3 separate regions of the Homo sapiens genome follow, and all the other regions are linked to region 1. The links are contacts of gene promoters, found by promoter capture Hi-C in blood cells and fetal thymus (Javierre and others, 2016). All regions are on one chromosome and are shown on one strand. The core of a region is centred on a gene start or on the middle of the fragment in contact, and the rest is flanking DNA. Distances in the headings are between cores, read along the strand shown.

Region 1 (4,483 bases), core at 678-3,177:
TCTGATGTTGTATGAGGGTTCATTTCTCCACACACTCATGTTAATAATGTAAATTATCATCTTTTCTAATTTTACCAATCTGATGGTGAAAAATGGTATTTTATAGCTAAGATATATACATATATTTTTGGTCACATTAGACTCCTCTTGTAGGTTTGATATTTCTTCTGCGAAATATTTCTTCTGCAAGCTGATCATTTATATCATTTGCCCATTTTAAAAACTACTTTGTATTGATTGGTAAGAATTATTGGTAAGAATATTTTGAATATTAATAATTTTATATATATTGCAAATATTTTGTCACGCCTTTTCATTTTGTTCCTTATTTCTTCATCTGCATGTAAATCTTACTTCTTTATATCATCAGTTGTGTTCATCTTTTCTTTCTTACTTTGGATTATATGTTATATGTAGCCAGGCCTTCCATACTCAAACTATAGGAATATCTTTCTATATTGTCCTTTTAGCATTATTGTTATTATTTTATTTATTTAGTTATTTATTTTGAGACAGAGTCTCACTCTGCTCCCCAGGCTGGAGTGCAGTGGCACAATCCTGGCTCACTGCAACCTCCGCTTCCCAGATTCAAGCAATTTGCCTGCCTCAGCCTCCTGAGTAGCTGGGATTACAGGCGCACATCACCACACCTGGCTAATTTTTGTATTTTTAGTAGAGATGGGTTTCACCATGTTGGCCAGGCTGGTCTTGAACTCCTGACCTCAGGTGAGGAGGTCCGCCTCGACCTCCCAGAGTGCTGGGATTATAGCTGTGATCCACCACCCCCGGCCTCCTTTTAGCATTATTATAGTATTTTTGCATTTAAAACTTTAATCCAACTGTAGTTCATTATTGTGGATGACGCTCATACAACCATGAGGTAAATATTTGGCTTTCTTTTACCCAGTAACAGCAAACAACTGCTTTGACTTAATTTCATTTCCTTGGCAACTTTCTGACAGATAATATCCATATTTGTACTTAAAGTTGAAAAAGAAAACGAGCACCACTTTTGCAATTTTTACTCACTGTGACCTAAAGAATTATAACCCTGAAAATGTGCTTTGGAAGTCTGTCATGGTTATTTCTCTTTTTAGGCATCTTTTCAGGGCACACCCGTCTCTGCATCACTGTCTGTTTCCTTGTGTCACAAATTTCTGTTCTTTTTTTCTCTCCCTGTTCCCTCTCATTTATTTTTTCTCCTAATCTCTCCTTTTTCTTAACCACCTATAATGTTAATCACTTTAAATGCTTTTGACTCCTTTGTTTTGGTAGTTTAATTATATTTCATAGTCTCTATGCTTCTTTGTTTTGGAATAAGTTTTTATTTATCTAACTGTGAATTTCACTAGAGTTGTAAAATGTATGCCGAACATAGGATTTGGGGATTGCAAGCATTTACAGCTGATATTCAATTTCTTTCTTTTCACCACAAAAACGATTTTAGAACATGAAAAATATCTTTGGAGAAACAAAAAAATCAATTTCCTCATCATTTTATGGGTCTACATTTTTCAATATAATCATATGGGATAAATGTTTGCATTCTGCTATTGGCTTGTGAACATTTACCTATATTTCTATGTGGTCTTGTTAGGGACAGTATACCTAAGTGGATAAAAGGCTGTGTGGTTGAATTTGGCTTCTTGTTTACAAAAGAGTGATCCTTAGTGATCTACTTAGCCTCTCTGTTCCTTTTCTCTTTCACTGAGATGAGAAAACCTATCCTTCCCAATTTTTTTGTGTGAGAATTAAAATGCAGCAAGAAAACACACACTCATAAACACATCTGCTTTGGCAAAGGAGCACATCAGAAGGGCTGGCTTGTGCGCGCTCTTGCTCTCTGTGTATGTGTATTATGTTTTATGTTACTGTAAAAGATGTAAAGAGAGGCACGTGGTTAAGCTCTCGGGGTGTGGACTCCACCAGTCTCACTTCAGTTCCTTTTGCATGAAGAGCTCAGAATCAAAAGAGGAAACCAACCCCTAAGATGAGCTTTCCATGTAAATTTGTAGCCAGCTTCCTTCTGATTTTCAATGTTTCTTCCAAAGGTAAGCATAAGAGTCAAAGAAGTCCCAACCCAGCTTTCCCTGAAAGTGACTCTCAGTAACTCTTTTGCTTTTTATAGGTGCAGTCTCCAAAGAGATTACGAATGCCTTGGAAACCTGGGGTGCCTTGGGTCAGGACATCAACTTGGACATTCCTAGTTTTCAAATGAGTGATGATATTGACGATATAAAATGGGAAAAAACTTCAGACAAGAAAAAGATTGCACAATTCAGAAAAGAGAAAGAGACTTTCAAGGAAAAAGATACATATAAGCTATTTAAAAATGGAACTCTGAAAATTAAGCATCTGAAGACCGATGATCAGGATATCTACAAGGTATCAATATATGATACAAAAGGAAAAAATGTGTTGGAAAAAATATTTGATTTGAAGATTCAAGGTAAGTGTTCATTCCCTTAATTGCTTTATTTCAGTGTGGGTGCTATTTGGCAAGTTGGAAAATAGCATTTCTAATATTCCCCAGCGCTGACCTCTGCCTCCAGGGGGGCTATACAGGAAACCAGATGCATGTCTCCTGCCCCAGTGGAGACTGTGGTCCAATGCGGGAATGGGATCCACACATCTGATAGACCCTCAAGTCTACCTGCCTACAACTCTGTCTTCAGGTGGTTACAGGAATGTGGGGTTGGGTGAAGAACCTGGATTAAGGTGGCATTAATCGGGAGGGGGACACAGGTAGGCCGAGGGAAAAGGCAACTGTTCCAGGTTGCTGATGAATCGGCGAGCTAAGAGTGGGGCGAGAAGAAGAGGCTGACTGGAGAGCAGCGGGCCTTTCATCGACAGAGCCCATTTCAAGCCAGGCTGCCCTGAAGGAGGAGTTATATGGCAGAAAAGGGCTGGAAACAACATATTTAAGGATGAACAGCCCTTATTTTGGATCTGCTTGTCAGAGTGATACAAGGTGGCAGGTGATTTTTGCTGATATGTGTAGAAGATGCACAAGGTGTGGCTTTGTATATCTCTGCCTGTACTGGGAGGACAGGAGTGGATATTGAGGATGGGGTTAGGGAGACTAGTTAGAAAGCTGCTGCTGTAATCCAAGTGGAGTGAGGACCAATTAAATCAGATTTTTTTTGCATGCGGCCTGGGTATCATTAGGTTCTAAAGCTCCCTGGGGGATTCTAATGAGCTGCCAAAGTCAATCGCCACTGGCCTAGACCAAAGGGTGCCTCTAAAATAGGAAGAATGAGGATAATAAGGGTCAGGCATAGAGAAAGGTGGCTTAGGCAAGGGAGAGAAGGTAGAGAAAGTGGAATCGAAATGCCATTGAAGTTGAAAGCCCGGGGGGATGCTGGGGAAGTAGTGACAAGAAGGGAAAAGAAGAAGCTGCGCTTGACTTGGGGAGGCAGACAGGAACCCCAGCATGAGCACAGGCCAGCCATTCAGTGAGCAAATAAGCATTTCTGTGCTTCACACAGAAAATATCACCAGAAGCAGGGACCCCACCTTCTTCCTCTCTGTCTCCAGCCCCATCTTCAGCACCTGGGCCTACCAGCAATCCCAGATAGTGTCAGATTGCCCACTCCAGCAATCCCAGACACTGTCAGCTCCCCTGAAGTGACAACTTTCCACACCCTAGTCCTGCAACCTTGAGTGGAGAGCACCTTGTAGAAATGTAGTGGGGTTGAGCATGGCGCTGAAAAGGGCCTCTGATTATGGGCTCTGGAAACCACAGATCTCAGGACTCCAAACAGCACAAAACTCGAGTGTCCTGTTTTGAGTGTGAGCCCTACGCGGGGGACCATGCTGGTGTTTTCACATTTGGGTCGCATTTAGCATTGCGGCGGAAATAATGGCTACCAGTTAGGGGTCAAGTGCTTGCTTACATGATCTTATTTAAAGCGCCCAACAATACTGAGACCTAGTTGTTATTATCTCCTTGTTATATATAAGAAAACAGAGACCTAGTCAGAAGCAGCTTGTCCAAGGTCTCATTGCTTGACAGGAGCAAAGTCAGGATTCAAACTCAGAGGTCTTTTTGGCAAGAATGACGACCTTTTCTTTTTTTTTCCAAGCAGCTTCATTGAGATAATTCATCTACCATTCAATTTGTCCATATACTAAAATGGCCTTCAGTATATTCAGAGTTTTGTAACCATCACCACAATCAACATTTTCATTGCCCCAAAAAGAAACCCTTCACCCTTTAGCCGAAAGACAGTGACTTGCTTTATGTGTGTGCACGTCAATGTCATACAACATCTTGATTCAACTTGTAGTTGGTCACTATTACCAGACTTAAGGTGACCATGGCCTTGGGCAAATTCCCTATCTGCTGTGAGTCTGCTTTTCCAATGACAACTTCAAGGGATATTCAGTGAGACAAGGTGTGTACAAGTGTCCTGCAGTGCCTGGGGCACAATGCCTGTTTTCTCAGTGCTAATGCCCTCCCACATCTCTTTGTTTCTCCAAG
Region 2 (4,483 bases), core at 1,086-3,585, 340 kb after region 1:
ACACATGGAAGGCAAAATTTTGAACCTACTCTTCATTGGCTTCCTTGCATAGAAGTCATAGGGTGTGGTCACCATATACTGAATCTGTCTGGTCCTCATGGGGCTGTACTGAATAATAATATCTCTTTGACATTTGACCTGTCATCCAGCATCTCACCGGAACTTTAAGAAGATGACTTTGTAATCCTTTGTGTCATCTGTTCTTTGCACTTTCTCTTGAACTCTTATCTTTCCCTGAATTCCAGATTTACTGTTTCCTATTTGGTACCTCTCATTTACATTTCTAATGTAAATATATTTTTTCTTCTTTTACACCTTATATTTGTTAGCTTATTTTAAAAAAAGATTGGTTTTTTAAAATAACTGTTTCTTTTGCATTACCTTTGGCCATTGCTTCTTATGAGCTTGGCATCATTTAACAAGTCTTCTATAATTTGTCAAGATCCCACTGCAGGCACAGTTAAGCAGGTCTTAGTGACCATTATACATGCATTTTTTTTCTTTTTAATCTGAGGCAGGTCAGCTCTGCAATCCTATCTAAAAAGACATGAAAGTAGAGGCAACCAATCTGGAAGAAGCCCTAATAATCCATTCAGTAGAGGTAAGCTGTAGGACTCTCATAAATACATATGACTGGTGAAAATGGGGATTTGGATTCAGTAAAACACAGAAATGTGAGGTTATGAATCCTTGGTATCAGAGATTTGGCGTTAACTAAGACCCTCAAACCAGAGTAAAATCTACTGATTGCAAACACGAGATCTGGTGTTTATTTAGCTTCTTTTTAATTGTTTCCTAAATCTGCTTTATTAAAATGCAGGTAGTTCTATAAGGAAAAACCGATATTTCATTTGGCCTAATTGAAGTGGCCTATAGAAGTGAGTTGTAACTATATTATTGAGTCTGAGATCAAACATGGTTAAAGTAGCCCCATGTAGTTCCTGGCTCTCTCCGTATTTCTCTTTTAAATCCTGTACCATCCTGTGGCTTGTCTTCCCTCTTGGAAGTGGCACTGGAGTTTGGGTCTGAGGAGCCTAGACACTCGGAGGCAGCAGACTCACCGAGATCCAGCACCGTCCACATACTGTCCCAGTTGCTGAGACTCCGCCAGTGTTGCTGTCATCTTTCTTTACTGAAGTCGGTAAGAAAAGCCCTCAGCCTGCTGTCATATAGTGCTCCAGAGGGGCCACCTGAGAAGTCAATTTCACTCTCCTCCAACTGGAATCCAGTCTGCTTGATCAAAGGAAATGCTGTTTCGGTTTTTCTATTTTTGTTTTTTGGTGGGTTGGAGAAAAGGGGGCTTATTTATTTTGCTTTATTTCATATTAATCTTGATAATTCCTATGGCATCAAGAATAGTGTATTTCTATTGTTTATTTTGTTTTAGATTAACTGTTTAAGAAAAGAAAATGATATTTTGTTTAAAAAGAAGCCATTTGTGAATGCTCTGGTACTTCAGAATGTCATAAAGCTAATTTAGTTCTTGGGGTTTTCTGCTTTCAGGCAGTTTTGGGGTTTTGGGTTCCAGTTATAAAAACTCAGATAGTTATACAGACTGAAAAGTTGCCCCTACCTTGGATAGAGGCACATCCAAAATTAAGAGGAGTATTCTATTCATTTAAGGAGCTGTAATAATGTATTCTGATTATCAACATCTCAATTATATTCTAGCTTGGAAAAAATAGAATGATTATGTCATCTGCCTGGCAAGTCTTTAAAAAGTTCCATCATTTGGTTTATCTTTAATGTGGTGAAAAAACTTGCAAGATCACACTTTAATCAAGGTGTCTTGAGGAGTTACTGATGACAAATTACAAGATATTTTGCTCTGTGAAGTGGTAAACAATCAAAACATCATCAACAAGTAACAAGGTTTGCTCCCTTGACTCCCAGCTGCTCCTGTCCTTTTTTGTCTGTTCAGGCCCTGGATCCAATGGAACTGAAGGGTGAAGGTCTTGTCCTTTCCCTGGAAGAACAGCTCAGTGCTTTGACCTTGTCAGAACTCCGTGACTCAGAGCCATCTTCCACTGTTTCCCTTAACGGCACCTTCTTCAAGATGGAGCTTTTTGAAGGCATGCGAGAGAGCACCAAGGTACTTTTTGTCTCCTCTGTAGTAGTCGAGAGACTTCGATTCCTCACACATTTTCCTGTGTGACAGCACTTCATTTGTCCAAGTGGGAACAGCCATTTGCCAGCAGAGCTAGAGCCGTTAAATTCTAGCTGATCAGATTCTCCCTCCAGTCTTAAAGCTTCATTTATTTCACAGATAACACTAAAGCCTTACTACATAGGGGACTTTGAGAGAGTAATTTGGGACAACCCCAGCATTGCACTGAAGTGGGTTTTCTGTCATGGGTCACTGGGGAGCTTGCCAGGTTTGTGCTAGGGACGGGGCCTATGCAAGTGAGCAATTTGTTTAGAGAAAGCTTAAAAGGAAAACAAAGGCTTGACTCTAGAGACTGTGTCATACATGCGAGCGCCAATTGCTCTGACTTTGAAAGGCTTCCACATGTGAGTAGTGTTTCCTACATAGCCTTCTGTCTTCATTAGTCATTCTGCTCTGTTTTCGTCAGAGCTTTTTAAGGCAGAAACATTCTGCTGGAGGAAGGCTTAGATATGCCGTAACCTGAATCCTGCCTGTCTGCTGGCTCGGAATGTGCTTCATCATCCTGCCTGTCTTGAAAGTGAGGCTTGTTTCTCTCTTAGCATCTCAAGCTGCCGTTCTTGGGCTCAACCTCTCTTCAAAGGCTTTTTTTGAAAAAGTGTATTAATAACTAGAAAGGTCACTTCCAGGGGAATGGCATTATTTTTTAAAAGGAATGCTGCCTTTTAATTAAAATTTGAAAACATTTACCTAGGTCTTTACCACTGATAGCTGAGAGAAACATAAGAAGAGCATCCCATGTGGCCAGAACACACATGCTAGTGCCTTCAGAGTGAGCTATTGGGCTAAAATTTAAATTCCTAATCATTTGTGTTCCTTGTTTAATTAAATGCAGGTAATATTTATTCACAAGTTTTCTTAACATATGTCCATTAATAGTTCAAACCACATACGGTTGTTTCAAGTAGGGAAGGAGGCTTCTTACTGGAATTTGACCCCGGCTCGTGGGCCATAAATCCAGCCCTCCTGCTGCAGTTTTCTCAAAACACCATGGCTAGCTTTTTCATGTGGGAGTCACAGCGCCTTCCACAATCTCAAGTTGCCAAGACACCAGGCACATCAGTGTCTCTGTTCTATTGTTAACTAAATAACAGATGTAGCTGCTTTTCTGTCTGCTAATTTGAATGGTACAGTTCTGTGACTCACTTCCTGCCTAGGCACCAGAATGTTTGTTAAGATTGGAAAGCAGCCCCATGTGGTGACCACTGTAATGACATCCTAGAATGTGGGAGCTCAGGGCACCTCAGAATTTATCTGGCCTAAGTCCTTCTTTTCACTGATGAGGAATCTGAGTCCCAAAGTGGTCCAGCCATATGAGGACAGAGGAAGAACTTCTGTATATTTGTCTCCTGATTGACTTACAGCCCAGTTTTCTTCCTTCTCCAGCATTCTGGGGGTGAACTCTGGGGCCCTTAGAGGCTCTTGAAAGGTTTTTCACATGAGCAGCTGGGAAGAATGAGCCCAGCTGCACTCCAAAGTCATGCCCCACGTGTTCTTACTGACAGCTCCCCTGTGGACTCAAGTGCACCCTAAGGGTTCTTGGGGAATACCCAGGGAGCCTGTTCGGAAGCTTTAACAATGGTTCCTCCGTCTGGACAGGTCCTTTTCAACAACATTTGGAGCAGGCCATAAAGTGGGTAAAGCTCTTTCACTTTCTTCTTCAGCAAACATTAGGAGAGTATCTTCTCTGTTTTGGCCATGTGTGTACTCACAGCCCCTCACACATGGCCGAAACAGAGAAGTTACTTTCCTAATATTTGCCTCCTTGGAGTGTCTCAAGTCCTGGAAGCAAGAGATAATAAGCAATTAATATACAGTATGACAAGGACCGTGATAATAGAAACAAAAGGTGCTATGATAGTACTTGGGCAGTGGGCACCTAACCTGTACTTTGGGGGTTGGGAGGACCTCCAAGAAGAAGTGACATTAAGCTGACACAAAAGGGTGTTCTAGGCAGAGGGAGCAGAATGGACAAGATGGCCAGTGTGTGATTTATGGGAAGAATTTTGGTGTGCTTGCTGTGTCGTTTGAGGAGGGCATGGTGAGAAACGAACCCAGAGAAGCAGAGGCTGGAGCAGCAAGAATCCGGCAAGCTGCCTTGAGGAGCTTGGCCTTTATCCTCAGTGGGAAGCTATGGAAGGGCTTTAGCCAGAGGGGTGAAGTGACAAACTCACATTTTAGAAAGAGCTTTCTGGCTGCAGAGAGGAGGGTGGAATAAAGACAGGTGAGGCCAGAGCACAGACGCCATGTAGGAGGCTGCTTCGCATGGCAGGTGAGGGGAGATGGAGAAAAGTGAATTGCTTAAACATACAATGTTGA
Region 3 (4,483 bases), core at 1,358-3,857, 270 kb after region 1:
TTGGTGACATCTCCCAGTTTGAGAATGTCCACAACTAATTCACTTCTTCTTTTTCTTTTTTTTTAGACGGAGTCTTGCTCTGTTGCTCAGGCTGGAGTCAGTGGTATGATCTTAGCTCACTGCAACCTCCTCCTCCTGGGTTCAAGCAATTCTCCTGCCTCAGCCTCCAGAGTAGCTGGGACTACAGGTGTGTGCCACCATGCCTGGCTAATTTTTGTAATTTTAGTAGAGACAGGGTTTTACCATGTTGCTCAGGCTGGTCTTGAACTCCTGACCTCAGGTGATCCACCTGCCTTGGCCTCCCAAAGTGCTGGGATTACAGGCGTGAGCCACTGCGCCCAGCCCAGTTCTCTTAAAATACTGCAAGTGTCAAGCAGAACATACCTGTGGGCTTGGTGTGGCTGTGGACTTCCGGTTGTGCACGTCATTTAGGGAACAAGTTAACCAAGAGGCCCCAGAAAGATGCTGAGAATGACTGGTCAGAGTTGTAAGGGGGATATTTTCTCTGAGGTTGGAAGAAAAGAAGTCAATTTCAAGGAGAAATTGGACTCCAGTAACAAAAACCACATAGAGGACAGAAAAGGACTAGAGGGTCCCTTGAACTGGGAAATTGGGCCCTGGCCAAGTAAAGTGATGGGATTGGAAGCCAGATCACAATAAAGTAGGAAGTAATTTGAGACAAGGAAACAGCAACAGTATTCCATGTGCTAATATTCCACGTGCTACTCCATGAAGGAAAGGGGAGAGTAAAAATGGTAACTAAGAAAGAGTCCAAGATCAGACAGAATTATTCTCTTAAAGACAGATTAATAAATGTGTTTGAGTCAGGCACAGTGGCTCATGCCTATAATCCCAGCACTTTGGGAGGCCAAGGTGGGCGGATCACCTGAGGTCAGGAGTTCGAGACCAGCCTGGCCAACATGGTGAAACCCTGTCTCTACTAAAAATAAAAAAGTTAGCCAGGCATGGTGGCCCATGCCTGTAATCCCAACTGCTCGGGAGGCTGAGGCAGGATAATCGCTTGAACCCGGGAGGCAGAGGTTGCGGTGAGCCAAGATTGTGCCACTGCACTCTAGCCTGGGCGACAGAGCGAGACTCCGTCTCAAAAAATAAATAAAATAAAAATAAATAAATAAATAAATAAATAAATAAATGTGTTTGTAGTGGAATTGAAAATGTAATGCACACTATAATTTCTTTATTTTGTTTGTAACTACTTTGGCTGTTATTCTAAATCCTCACCTGCTGGTTAGCAAGGGGAAAAAAAGTAAATGTCAAAATCTCTTTAAAACTCAGTCTAATCCAATCATCTAAATAGCTCCCATGGATGGCCTTCTAACACTTGCATCAAAATGTTCAGTCTCTTGGATGGCGTCCTCTCTCTCTGCGTTTACACCCAAGATAATATCTGGGTGTATGGGAGGAGAGTAATTTGCTAAGAATGAGGGGTACTGGTGGAATACATGGCTTGAGGGAGCTGCTAAAAGTTGTGAATGACCACTTTGGGAAGTAGAGGAGGAGTGAATCAAGGGTAAGTAAAAGCAGCAGGCAGAGGGCCCTGCAGAAGCTGTGTAGTTTTCAATGGCAGGGTCCAGCAGGCAAGCAGTTGGGCTAAAGAAGGAAAGAGGCTGGTTTGATTCCTAGCAGAGAATGTCCTGGCAAATGTGAGAGAAAAACAGGGACCAAGGACAAGAATTAAAATGAATGTGGCTGGACGTGGTGGCTCATGCCTGTAATCCCAACACTTTGGGAGGCTGAGGTGGGCAGATCACTTGAAGCCAGGAGCTCAAGAGCAATCTGGCCAACATGGTGAAACCCCGTCTCTACTAAAAATACAAAAATCAGCTGGGCATGGTGGCACACGCCTGTAATCCCAGCCACTTGGGAGGCTGAGGCAGGAGAATTGCTTGAACCCAGGAGGCAGTGGTTGCAGTGAGCTGAGATCATGCCACTGCACTCTGGCCTGGGTGACAGAGCAAGACTCTGTCTCAAAAAATAAAAATAATAAAAAAAATAAAATGAATGCACTGATGTCTAAAGAATATAAGATCTTCCCAGTGAGAACTAGATTTTTCAGAGGTGGTATCCAAATCTGAAAGTCTGCATTCTCTAATTTACTGCCATTTTATTTTCTAGGAAGTAAGGTACGTGTCTCCAAAGTGTACTGGACCGAAAATGTGACTGAGCACAGAGAAGTGGCCATCCGCTGCAGCCTGGAGAGTGTAGGCAGCTCAGCCACTCTGTACTCTGTGATGTGGTACTGGAACAGAGAAAACTCTGGAAGTAAATTGCTGGTGCACTTGCAACATGATGGCTTGCTGGAGTATGGGGAAGAGGGGCTCAGGAGGCACCTGCACTGTTACCGTTCATCCTCTACAGACTTTGTCCTGAAGCTTCATCAGGTGGAGATGGAGGATGCAGGAATGTACTGGTGTAGGGTGGCAGAGTGGCAGCTCCATGGACACCCAAGCAAGTGGATTAATCAAGCATCCGATGAGTCACAGCGGATGGTGCTCACGGTGCTGCCTTCAGGTAACCAGGGGTTTATCTACCGCGAGCTCATGGTCAGGAGAATACATGGCTCTCCTCTTATCCTCTCCCTCTCACCTATCTTTTGCTCCTTCTGAAGACAATTTTCAGACTGAAGACAATTTTCAGGTTCCCTAAAGAAGATGACTTTGCTGTCTCTCTCAATAGTAACTCATTTGAACAAACAAGGTCCACATGAGATTTTGGCATAGACACTTAAATATCGGGAGCATCTGACAGGTCCATGTCTTTCTGCTGGGGTTCAGGGAGAAGGTGGGAGGTGAGCAATAAGCTAAGCTTACTGAGGGAAAGGGCCATTGGAGAAGTAGGGGTGTGGTCTTGGTGCCAGACACCAGGAAGCACAAAGGGAAAATCATCAATAAAGGTAACAATCCTAAGAGACCAGCTAGCTTTAGTGACACTGCTTAGGAGGGACAGAATGCTGTTGAGAACATATGGGAACATCTAAGAAGTAGGGATAGGTGCATCCCAGCGCAGCAGGGCTTCCAGAGGGGAAGTCGAAGCTATCCGATTTGTTCCTTGAGGTGGTCCATCATTGTTTTTCCCTGTTCATTCCTCAGCAGAAGTTTTCTCCTGAGTGCCAGGCCAAAATGTTTTTTCTATCAGCCTTTTTCTTCTTTCCAACAATTACAGGAAGTCCCATACTCATGAGCACATTCCGTACATGTTTTCCCAGTGGAATTAATAGGCTCTGTAGAATCGGCAGTTTTTGCAGTAGAATAAATAGATAAGAACTGTAAAAAGTATACAGTCTGTGATGAAAAGCGTATCTTCTCTGAGGCAGATGGGATCCTTCATAGCATACATATTGTTAATCTTTGTGAGATCCTTGTAAAACAGGTATACGGTTTTTAAAAGATAAACCTGGAAAGAAAACATTAAAAATTGAGTGGCCTTCGTATTCTTCAGAAAACCTTTGTCATGACAAACTGAGGGTTTTGAGGGTAATTAATGTTGAGGATTTCCAAGGAAATCCCTGTAATGTACCTTCTGGGCTCCTCCACCTGGCTGTTCCTTCCTGGTAGTCAGGGAGGCAGTGTGGGGTGATAAAAAATCCCAGGGGCTGGAATCTGACCAGCCTAGGCTCAAATCACAGCTCTACTACCAATACCAGCTATGAAATCATACGCTGGTTACTTGCTGTGAGCCTCAGCTTTCTATAAAATGAAGATCACAATATAAATATGTATAAAGTATCCAGTACAGTGCTTGGCACATTGTCAGTGCTCAGCAAATGTAATCTCCTTTTCCCCTTATGCCTCCAAACCCGCTGCACATACATATACACACAGGTACACACATACCTACATGTGTACATCTATGTGACAAAATAATGACACTTGTTTAATAAATAACTATATCAGGTTCTGAGGCCACAAAAGTGTACATGACAGAGTCTGTTCCCACCGAGCTTGGAATCCAGTGGGAGAAATCAAGTCCAACATAACAGGTGTCATCAAAGAAGTATTTCCAGTAGACTAGGGGAACAACAGAGGCAGGGCTGGGGTGAAGTGCTAGGTAGGGAGATGATCTGGGAAGGTTCCCCAGAGTCTGGGGCTCATGAAAAGGAAGAAACATATTTTAAGAACATGAAAGAGTATGCAAGATGATAATAAGATGTAAAATTTCATGTTATATTCGGGGAACTCCTGGTCATTGAGAATGGCAGGAACTGCAGTCTCTATGGTACAGTGGCAAGAGATGAGACCAGTGAGGAGGGAAAGGAACAGATGATAGATCCCAAATGTGTCTAGAGTATGAAGCTAAGAAGGAAGAACTTTATCATGACAGTGATGGAGTGTCATTGAAAAAGTTTAAGCAGGGGAGTGACATGATCAGATTTTCCTTTTAGAAAGTTCCCACATTAAAATGAATTGGAGGTCGGGCACAGTGGCTCGTGCCTGTAATCCCAGCACTTTAGGAGGCCAAGGCG

Evidence for each region. The method cuts DNA at HindIII sites, captures the fragments that hold promoters and counts their contacts. A CHiCAGO score of 5 or more calls a contact.
Region 2: a fragment that was not itself captured here is called in contact with the fragment with the promoter of CD2 in region 1 in 3 of 17 cell types (naive CD8 T cells, fetal thymus and naive CD4 T cells); the score reaches 6.7 in naive CD8 T cells.
Region 3: a contact is called between a fragment that was not itself captured here and the fragment with the promoter of CD2 in region 1, in 12 of 17 cell types (naive CD8 T cells, naive CD4 T cells, non-activated CD4 T cells and 9 more). The highest score is 10.1, in naive CD8 T cells.

Annotation. Positions count from the first base shown.
Region 1 is chr1:116,752,503-116,756,985 of GRCh38, forward strand. It overlaps CD2 (CD2 molecule), which reads left to right and starts at 1,928. Exons shown (of 5, transcript NM_001767.5): 1 at 1,928-2,051; 2 at 2,129-2,449. The coding sequence starts at 1,991. RefSeq lists promoters at 1-2,045, 1,603-2,045, cis regulatory regions at 1-177, 515-544 and a silencer at 178-681. The HindIII fragment of the contact is 7,255 bases long and covers 1-4,481 here.
Region 2 is chr1:117,090,810-117,095,292 of GRCh38, forward strand. It overlaps TTF2 (transcription termination factor 2), which reads left to right. Exons shown (of 23, transcript NM_003594.4): 16 at 519-601; 17 at 1,008-1,141; 18 at 1,922-2,092. It overlaps MIR942 (microRNA 942), which reads left to right and starts at 3,834; the gene lies at 3,834-3,919. The HindIII fragment of the contact is 177 bases long and covers 2,248-2,424 here.
Region 3 is chr1:117,023,373-117,027,855 of GRCh38, forward strand. It overlaps CD101 (CD101 molecule), which reads left to right. Exons shown (of 10, transcript NM_001256106.3): 8 at 2,137-2,532. It overlaps CD101-AS1 (CD101 antisense RNA 1), which reads right to left. Exons shown (of 4, transcript NR_110786.1): 4 at 2,110-3,414. Among named protein-coding and RNA genes, the nearest start is that of CD101, 24 kb to the left of the region's middle. The HindIII fragment of the contact is 433 bases long and covers 2,392-2,824 here.